Regions from separate parts of the Homo sapiens genome. Here regions 1 and 3 are each linked to region 2. Evidence: promoter capture Hi-C in 16 types of primary human blood cells and fetal thymus (Javierre and others, 2016). All regions are on one chromosome and are shown on one strand. Each heading gives the region's core, a stretch centred on a gene start or on the middle of the fragment in contact. The rest is flanking DNA. Distances are from core to core; before and after follow the strand shown.

What was found. Contacts are between HindIII fragments. The CHiCAGO score rates a contact against its expected background, and 5 or more counts as called.
Region 1: a fragment that was not itself captured here is called in contact with the fragment with the promoter of TMX4 in region 2 in 1 of 17 cell types (total CD8 T cells); the score reaches 5.2 in total CD8 T cells.
Region 3: a fragment that was not itself captured here is called in contact with the fragment with the promoter of TMX4 in region 2 in 1 of 17 cell types (total B cells); the score reaches 6.5 in total B cells.

What each region holds. Positions count from the first base shown.
Region 1 is chr20:10,428,721-10,431,933 of GRCh38, forward strand. The region is part of intron 1 of MKKS (MKKS centrosomal shuttling protein); the gene reads right to left. The region is part of intron 1 of LOC128706665; the gene reads right to left. All of the region lies in intron 1 of LOC128706666, which reads right to left. Among named protein-coding and RNA genes, the nearest start is that of MKKS, 3.9 kb to the right of the region's middle. RefSeq lists an enhancer at 2,897-3,213. The HindIII fragment of the contact is 328 bases long and covers 1,669-1,996 here.
Region 2 is chr20:8,018,161-8,021,470 of GRCh38, forward strand. It overlaps TMX4 (thioredoxin related transmembrane protein 4), which reads right to left and starts at 1,601. Exons shown (of 8, transcript NM_021156.4): 1 at 1,278-1,601. The coding sequence starts at 1,453. TMX4-AS1 (TMX4 antisense RNA 1) reads left to right here and starts at 1,746. Exons shown (of 7, transcript NR_184034.1): 1 at 1,746-1,944; 2 at 2,231-3,101. RefSeq lists silencers at 1,112-1,251, 1,362-1,601. The HindIII fragment of the contact is 3,626 bases long and covers 1-2,308 here.
Region 3 is chr20:5,951,829-5,955,076 of GRCh38, forward strand. It overlaps MCM8 (minichromosome maintenance 8 homologous recombination repair factor), which reads left to right. Exons shown (of 19, transcript NM_032485.6): 2 at 183-335; 3 at 596-700; 4 at 2,780-2,862. The coding sequence starts at 188. Among named protein-coding and RNA genes, the nearest start is that of MCM8, 2.8 kb to the left of the region's middle. The HindIII fragment of the contact is 1,792 bases long and covers 683-2,474 here.

The DNA of each region.
Region 1 (3,213 bases), core at 583-3,082, 2.4 Mb after region 2:
CCCAGTTACCTGGGAGGCTGAAACAGGAGAATCGCTTGAATCCAGGAGGCAGAGGTTACATTACAGTGAGTCGAGATCGCGCCATTGCACTCCAGCCTAGGTGACAGAGCAAGACTCCGTCTCAATAAATAAATAAATAAATAAAACTCCTTGCCTGCTGTCAGAAGAACTGGTATTCCTATTACCTGTGTTCCAGTCCCACTTTCTACTGTGTCTTTGGGGTTCTAACTTCATTATCCCCTCTCATCTACCTCCAACCTTCCACTCTTAAGGGCCTTTCTCTTTTGCATAACTATGACTATTTTTCTCCACTGAAAAGAGTCAAAAACAAATTCCCTAAGGCAACTGCCCTTTACCATCTTCCTTCCCAGTACTACACAATCTCTTTCCTTTCAAATAATGCATCTTTTCCTAGTCACTTCCCATTCCATCTTCAAACCCAAGCAATCTGCTTTTGTTTCATTCTCCATGGAAAGTGTTCTGACCATAAAGATCACCAATCCTTCCCCTTACATAATCTCCCTGTAGCCTTTTGATGTGTTCTTGAGACTCCTAAGTACTCAGGACTCTATACTGTTCCTTCTTAGTCTCCTTTAATAGCCTGCTGGTTTCCATCCACCTATTCATCCTTATCAAAGATCTGTCTTTGGTAGTGTTTGTTTCCTGGGCGGTCTCATTCAATCCCCAAACTTCTATGATCATGCATCCACTCTGGCTCTCACACGTTCATCTCCAGCTTAGACCCACATAATAAACTGCTACTGTACACCTTTGAACTAACCGTCCCCACAAATAGTCTCAATTCATCTCATATAAAAATAAGTCCTCTTTCCCTCCCAAACTGCTGTTCCACCTGGATTTCCTGTTTCGTTAACAAAAAGCATCATCTACTAAGCCATTCAATTCAGAAATCTGGATATACTGGACTCTGCCCTTTTCCTCATGCTCCTCATCAACTCACTCAGCACATCCTGCCATTTGACATAAGTGTTTCTTTACATAATCCCTCCTCCCTAGGGTCACAGTCCAGACCCTCGCGCCCTCACATGACCTCCTTGCTTCAATTCCAGTAGTTCTCAAACTGTGGTCCTCTCAACAGTGCCATTAGCAACACTTGGGAATTTACTAGAAATGCAAATTATCAAGCTGCCCCTCCTGACCTACTGAGTCAGAAACTCTAGGGTGGGGTCCAGTAATCTGTGTTTTAATTAATTCTTTAGGTAATTCTGAAGCTAAAGTTTGAGACCCACTGTTCTAGTCTACATCCACTAATCCATTCTCTACACTTTTAATATAGCCATCTTGCAAAACAAAAAACAAAAAAACAAAAACAAAAACAAATCTGGTTGTATTCCTGCTTTGCTTAAAAGCCTTTAGTGACATTTTTGACTAGAGTGAAATCTAAATTTCTTAGTACAGCAGAAAGAAAAATCCACTAGGATCTAGATCCTGCCTACCAGTTTTCAGAAAGTCAAGCACTTTAAATCATTTTTGTAAGAATGCATTGTCATGTAGTGATTAAGGGATGAGCTGTGGACTCATACCACCTGGCTTTGAATCTTCACTTACCACTTTACAACTGGCTGTGTGGCCTTGGATTAGTCACTTAATCTCATTGTGCTTCAGTTCCATTGTGTGTACAATGTGAATAATAACATCCATATCATAAGCTTGCTGTGCAGTTATCACAATACTTGGCACTTTGTCTGGGCTCAGTAATTGTTAGCTATTATTATTTTGATTATGTCAAAAAGAAAAAAAACATTACTGGAATTAACCTGTAGTATAGCAAGAACTGGAGAGGATTAGAATTAATGCCCAAACTAAGGGAAGTGGTCCCCATAAAGGAAGGCCCACTTCTCTGGGCAGTTTCAGTTAGTTAGCTAAGAATAAAAATACCCAGTCTCAACAGAGAGGTTCAGAGGTCTTTGGGGTTTGACTAGGGTAGTGAATCTGGTAATTAGATTCTAGGATATTATAGGACAGATAACTGTCAAGCTTCTAAAGTGAGAGCCAGGAAAGCTGTGAAGGAAGTCAGAAAACTGATACAGAGCAAAGAAGCAAAGACGGTGAAAAATTTCATGTATGTTTCTCTAATAACAGTTAATAGAGCAGCCAAGTGATCAAATGTGAGAATCCTACAATGACTGAAACTTGGTCGACATTTTCAGACACGCTGTTGGTCTGAAACAACGTTTTACATAAGAGCAAAAGCATTGAGTAATGGCGAGAATCAAAGTCTAACCTCCACCACAAATTAGTTATGGTCTTGGACAAATTACTTCTCTCCTGCCTCAATGTCATGATCTGAAATAGGGGGCCACATTATGAAGAGAACTATATACATTCATAGCTTAGTACAGTGCCTAGCATGTGGGAAGTGCTCAATACACGGCAGCCATTACTTTTATTGGGAGTATATTATCTTATACGAATCATATATAAAAATAGGCACCCCTGGAGGTTCCTGCTTGATCAAAGCAATTATATATTATCATCGAATATTTTGACTAAAATTGGGTTCCAACTTATAAGGTGAGGAAATACTGTAAAGACAAATCCAAACACAGTCATGTATCCCACATTCACAATATTTAGGGATTAGCAATTTTCACTTCAAATATGTACAAGATTAATTCTATCCAAATGCTCACTTAGTGTCTATTAGGTGCTAGCAAGACTACTAGCCTCAGGGGGGAACTACCAAGAAGAGTAAGGCATGATTCTTGTCCTCAAGGAGAATACAGGTTTGAGAAGATAATGGGACAATCTTAATAAAACATAACTCAATGCTGTATAGGGTCAAAAAACCAAACCAAACCAAACCAAACCAAACCAAACCAAACCAAACCCGCACAAAAAACTGCATAAAGTCTTTACCAAGTTGACTCATTTTTCAAAATCATAGTTCTCATTTTTTCCTCTATCCTCCTCTGAATTAGTCTCAATCCATTTTTACTTACTCCATCTTTAGTTACGGCAGGGAGTCAAGATCTAGAAAAACTAGTCACTGCCACCCACGATAACAGAAGGTAGCAGCCACTTGTCTTCTCTGCTATATTCCTAGTGCGTAGCAGAAAAGTAGAGAATCTTGTCCCCTTTGGTCCACAGAGGATGGCTTATTCTTCTGCTTCAGCTCTTAGTTCAGATGTCACCTACTCAGAGAGCCTTTCTCTCAGCACTCAACCTAAAGTGTTTTCCCTCTCCCTCCCC
Region 2 (3,310 bases), core at 351-2,850:
TGTGTCCTCAACGTAAAACAAAGATTCAATAGTAGTATACAGATTGCCAGAAACCACAGGCTAAAGAGATGTGGCAATTTCCTGAAAGATTTTATGTTTGGGGGGTGGGGGCGGGAGGGGGGCAGGTAGGGTGGAAAGGAGTTGTGGGAGGGGAGAGAGAGACAGAGAGAGAGAGAGAGAGAGAGGAGGGAGAGAGAGAGAGAGAGAGGAGAGAGAGGAGAGAGAGAGAGAGGGAGGGAGGGAGGGAGAGAGAGAGAGAGAGAAGAGAGAGAGGAGAGAGAGAGAGAGGGGGAGGGAGGGAGGGAGGGAGGGAGGGAGGGGGAGAGAGAGAGAGAGAGAGAGAGAGAGAGAGAGAGAGAGAGAGAGAGTCTGCAAGCCCACCATGATGGTCTCTCAAGCCCGCTCAGACATCTGCCCACCATCCACTGCAAGCCTCTTTCAAATGGTCACTTCCTATTATAAGGTTAAACTATAATCAACAAATCCCTTTCTTTCTCCTAACTCAAAACTGTAGTTTCCCATCTCCTTAAAGAAAAGGCACTATCCACCATTTGCTTTCTATTGTTAAAAGGGGCAATGCGTATCTTCTTTTCTTTATGGCACAATTATTAATATTACTCAGAAAGTCCTACCTTTACAAGTTATAATAAGTATCAACATTTATTTGAAATCATACTGTAAAATTTAAAAGGCATCCATATTTATGTTTTATTCTCACAATGACATCTCCAGGTCTTCAAACGGAAGACTACGACACAAATGGCCTGCCTTCACCGTGCTGCAATTTCTTCAACAGGTAACTTGCTTAGCCTGTGCTACGTATTCATACTGCACGTGGATGTCACTGAATGTCCTTTCTCTTCCAATACATATCTGTATCTAAAAGCACACGGTTTGCTTGCAGATTTTCTTCCTTCCCTTCTCCTCCCTATGGGAAGCTGCCCACTCCACCCCGAAAACACTGTCCCCCAAAGCAAGGGGACGCGCTGCACCCTCGGCTGTCACCGCGAGGGCTCGGCGCGCATGCGCGGCGCGAGCGGCCGGGCCCCACAGCCGCAGGTCGTTGGTAAGGCGGGTCCGCGGACCCCAGGTCGAGCCCAGCGGCAGTGCAGGATCGCAAGCGGCCCGGCACCGGCGCCGCAGGTTGTTGGCAAGCCTGGTCCGGGGTTTTAGGTTGAGCCCAAGCGGCAATGCGGGATCGCCACCGGGCCGCGCGGGCTTGGGAGGGTGACGCCCGCGAGGACACTGCGGCGTCCGGGGCGGGCGGGCACACTCACAATTTCAGCATCCACTCGCCCTCCATCACCAGCGTCCAGTTGGAGGCGGTCATGGGCTGGACCCGGCTCTGCTCCGGCGGCAGCGCGGCCTCCTCGGGGCCTGCCGTCGCCGCCACAGCCGCGATCCAGGCGGCCAGGAGCGCCGTTAGCTGCGGGCCGCAGCGCCCACCCGCCATGTTGGGCGCCGAGCGAGGCTTCTCGGCGGGGAGTGTGGGGAAGGGCAGCGGCCGGCCCGCAGCCTCGCTCGCCCGCCGGGTTTTTCAAGGAAGCGGGAGACGCAAGGGCCACCCCGCCTACGCCTAGCGGCGCAGACTGGCGGTGCTCGCAATGCCGCGGAGGACGCCACCTCTTATCGCCGCTTGCCCGTCGAGGCCACGCCCCCTCCCGCCTCCACTTGCCGTTGCCCGGGGTGTCGGTTACCTCAGCAACCACCGCCCTTTCTTCCTGACCGCCAAGCTGACAATAAACAGATGACCCAACGTTGCCTAAGTTAGAACATGCACCGCTGCTGCCCAGGCTCCAATAAGGGCAGGGTTGGCGCGTGTGGGCTTCTCTAAAGGGAAACATGGCCAGTAATTTTAAAATCCATCCCCTCTTCAATGATAGCAAATATAAAAGCAACGGGCTGCAAGGTACACGTATGTTTAATGAAAAATGGAGGGACGTGGTGAGTATCTCCTGCTGAAGAGAGAGGAAAATTTAAGTACTCTGCATGTGTATATTGAAGCATCACTAATTTAGGATATTGATGAAACTAGCCTATGCAATTGCATTTTTTTTACAAAAAATGTTAATTTCATAGAAACTCTTAAAAACATGGGTACTAGCCGATAAAATGAGTCAATTAAGACTATTGCCACCTGCAGTAAAATGGACCTCACATTTCTCTTGACTACAGTTTTGTCAGATCTAAAATGAGGGTAGCCTTAAGTGATTTCCAAATTTCTTTCCAGGTCACATTAGATGAATCTGTACCTTGGGACCACCACACCGTTAATATATAAGACTGGATTACAATTAAAGGATGAGGAAGCTTTCTCAAAGGGTGCTTTGTATGTGTTTACTAGTTGTGCAAACCATGAACCTCGGTAATGTGGTTAATAGACCATGAAAAGGATGTGGTTTCTGCCCTCGGCTTAAAACAAAGACAGCAATAAGACTAAAAGTACTTCAGGGCACATGAGAGCAAATTTCAATCAATACTTATAGGAGAGGGAAGTTAATTTTGCCTGAAGAGAAGATCTGGCCTGCATTATGCATTAATTAGTATTAGCTAAAAACTATGTGGACCTAGCCCTTATCATTAAAATAAAACACTCAAGGGTTTACAAACTATTGAAATTTAAGAAAATGTCTTTGCAATGAATGCTACTAAGACTCACTGTTATTAAGTACATACATATCAATTCCATAAACTCAATGGAAAACATTTTACTGTGCTTGTAAAAAGAAGTGACTCATAAACAGGAATTCTGTCATTTTATCACTTTCATGATAGAATGATGTGTAGAATTTGTTTTACAATGCTCCAGAAATAAAATGTAGGGAATGGAAAGAAGATAGGTGAAAGAAAAGTGGTGCAACATCAGTCAGTGTTGAAGCTAAGTTCATTTTGCTACTTTACCTACTCATGCATATGTTGGAAAATTTACAAAATGAAAAGCTAAAAGGAGAGAGAGCATCTTCAGCATGAAAGACAGCCATTACCAAAGCATTTCCTATCTTTAACAAAAACTGAAGTCTTAGCCTTCAGACTAAGGATGGTAGGAAGAAAGTAGCAAGGAAGTATGGGACTGACCTTGCCGTAAGGAGTCACAGACCAGGGTAAGGGACCTGTTGCTGTCAGACCATGATTGGCATCTTAGCCCTGACACTTCCTAGCCATGTGATTTGGGGCTAAAACTAGTCCACACCAAAGTTCTCTTAAAATGCGGGTAGTAATAGAACCTGCTCCAAAAGGTGGCTGTGAAGATTATATGAGATAAGAATAATGCCTAGCACATATTCTAACTCAAAAAGCTTACATATTAGGT
Region 3 (3,248 bases), core at 329-2,828, 2.1 Mb before region 2:
TAGAGATTAGAAACTTAACTGCAGAATATTTGGGTCTTGTATCATAGCTGTACAACTTTGCAAGCCTGTTTGCTACTCTTGAACCTAGAATACATTAATTTTTCCCTTTTTATTAATACATTTTTAAGAGCACTATTTTCCTTACAGTTTTGGTGAAGACCTTTTTAATATCTATCTTTTAGGAGAGATGAATGGAGAGTATAGAGGCAGAGGATTTGGACGAGGAAGATTTCAAAGCTGGAAAAGGGGAAGAGGTGGTGGGAACTTCTCAGGAAAATGGAGAGAAAGAGAACACAGACCTGATCTGAGTAAAACCACAGGAAAACGTACTTCTGGTAGGTGAGGTCAATGATTGTTCAATTTTTTTCACTTAAGGAAGCAATTCACGTCTATCATACAAGGCGGTTTATCTCATACTTCAGTTTGTCTTTTATTTCATGCTACTCCTTAGTAAGTATTTGAACATTGATGTCCCAGATTTTTACTAAAACCCCTAATTTGGATACTCTATTAATGAGAGTCTCATTTGGAAAGAGAAGCATATTGGAAAAATGTTCACTCTGTTTCTACTAACCTAGTATTTTATTTTTTTCAGAACAAACCCCACAGTTTTTGCTTTCAACAAAGACCCCACAGTCAATGCAGTCAACATTGGATCGATTCATACCATATAAAGGCTGGAAGCTTTATTTCTCTGAAGGTAGGGTTTAAAAAGTACAAAAAAGCACCATAAATCATATTTTCTTAACTTGTCTTTGGATGCTACATCTTGTATTACTGTAATTCATTTACTAACATATACCTGCTTTAATCTTAGTTCACCCAAACAATTAAATGATGTTTATGTTTCAAAAGCATTTTAGACTTTATATCAGTCAGGAAAGCAGAAACCATACTAGGTATTTCAAAAAGGGGACTTAATACAAGAAATTGGATACAAAAATGGAAGACTGAAAGAGCAGAAAGGAAATATTGAGGTAACTCCCCAGAAAGTAGTAATTCAGGAAGCAGCAACCATCCTTATGGCTAAGAGACTAAAAGAAGTTCTGAGGTTACCAGAATGTGGGAATTCAAAGGTTGGAGAGGTCACAGCATAGCTGTTATTTTGACTTTTGAGGGGCACCCTACAAAGCTATGCTTGGACTTCTGAAGGCTACCTTACAGAGCTGTGCTTAGACCACTAAGGCAAATGAAGCTGGTTGCCACTGGTAACTGAGGGGGCATGACTCAGTGGTGCTTGGAACTGGAGGCTAGCACTATCGTTATCTTCTGCAGCTGCAGAGATGCTGAAAAGAGTTGGAAACAAGAATAAATTCCTTTCTCTTCCTGCCACCTTCCCGTCTCTAAAGTGCCTTCAATTGGCAGAATTTAAAGAGAATCTGAGACATGTAGGGTACAGATCTGAATTATAGCATCGCAGAGCAGGAAGTAGAACAGTGGGCCTGAAATCAAGGGACAATAACAAATACAGCTTTGTGTAGAAACACAGGTAAGGAATCTCCCTTTGATAATTAGGAATACCAATTAACCTACATCAGTCTGTATAGGTGCAGGGAACTGTCTTTTTTGTGCTGTTAAAATACCCATTTGTTTCTTATGTCTCATGAGGGGTGTGTGTGTGTGTGTGTGTGTGTGTGTGTGTGCATACTTTTTATTTTTTTTTGAGATGGAGTCTTGCTCTGTTGCCCAGGCTGAAGTGCAGTGGCGCGATCTTGGCTCACTGCAAGCTCTGCCTCCCAGGTTCACGCCATTCTCCTGCCTCAGCCTCCCGAGTAGCTGGGACTACAGGCACCCGCCACCACGCCCGGCTAATTTTTTCTGTTTTTAGTAGAGACGGGGTTTCACCGTGTTAGCTAGGATGGTCTTGATCTCCTGACCTCGTTATCCGCCCGCCTCGGCCTCCCAAAGTGCTAGGATTCCAGACGTGAGCCACCGCACCCAGCCGCATACTTTTTTTTTTTAGGAAAACTAGACGTTTGAGGTCCAGGACCCTCCCTGCCCCATACCAGGCATGCAGTAGTCATTTTGTGAATGAATAGAGTACTTTACAAATGTTTTCTTTATTGGAAATCTGTTCGTTTTTTTCCATCAATAGAATCTGTTTCATGAATGATCTTTTGTTCCTTTAGGATGTATTAGCCACCAGCACTCCCATTGCTCCCCTAGCAGATAGCTCAGAACACTATAAGTGATCTTTGGACAGTCCTAAAGATGGAGTTCAAGAGGTGCCTTAGCCTTCACCATCTGTGCTTCCAAACTACTTTATTGTACTGTTCTTCTGTGAGAGACATATTTGAAAATGTAGAACTTTAGAGTGTTAAAAAAAAAAAGGCTTTTCAGTTTTGCCACCAGGGTCAAGTGTTGGTCTGTCTCCTGATCTCAGGAAAGACTGTGATTGTGATTGTCTTCAGCTCTGTCAGAGTAAGAGCTTAGTTTATGTGTCTGGCTTTGGCTTTATTATAATTTTTAGTTTAAGCTTATTGTCTAAATTATCTGAACTAACATGTCCTATTAGGTGTCAAAGATGCAAAACAAAGTTTCCCAGATAGTGGGGCTTTTAGAGAGAGAGAGTTTCTGTCTGCATTTCACATTATGCAAACCTAAATTTGTTTTAGAATCTTAAGTTTACATTCTATACTAGTTCTTATATGAATGTAATCAAAATACAAAGCAATTAGAAAAAAATCATCTACCATGTATATAGTGCTGCTTTTGTCTCATGAAAAATGTGCATGTACCTGTGTGATTATTTGTGCTAATGCCATATTTGTTGGATTAGTTTACAGCGATAGCTCTCCTTTGATTGAGAAGATTCAAGCATTTGAAAAATTTTTCACAAGGCATATTGATTTGTATGACAAGGTAAGATTCCTCTACAGCAAAGCTACCAGTCATGTGCCATCTTACCAATGTATTCGAGGTACTTGTGATTATGATCGTAGGCACTGGAGTCAGACTTCCTTGGTTCAGACCTCAGTTCTGCCACTTACCTGCAGTATGGACTTTGATTAATTACTTCTCTGTGCCTCAGTTTTCTTTCATTTGGAGATAGAGGTATAAATACCTACCTCAAAGGATTGTTAAGAGGCAGTAATACATTAATATATTTAAAATATCAGAACCATGCTTGGCACAAAGCTTATACTTATGTCATACTTACCATTATCACATATAAACATTGTATGCTTTCTCAAAGTCTATAATAGAATGCTCAGTTAATGGTAATTGACTACAGAAAAGCAATTATT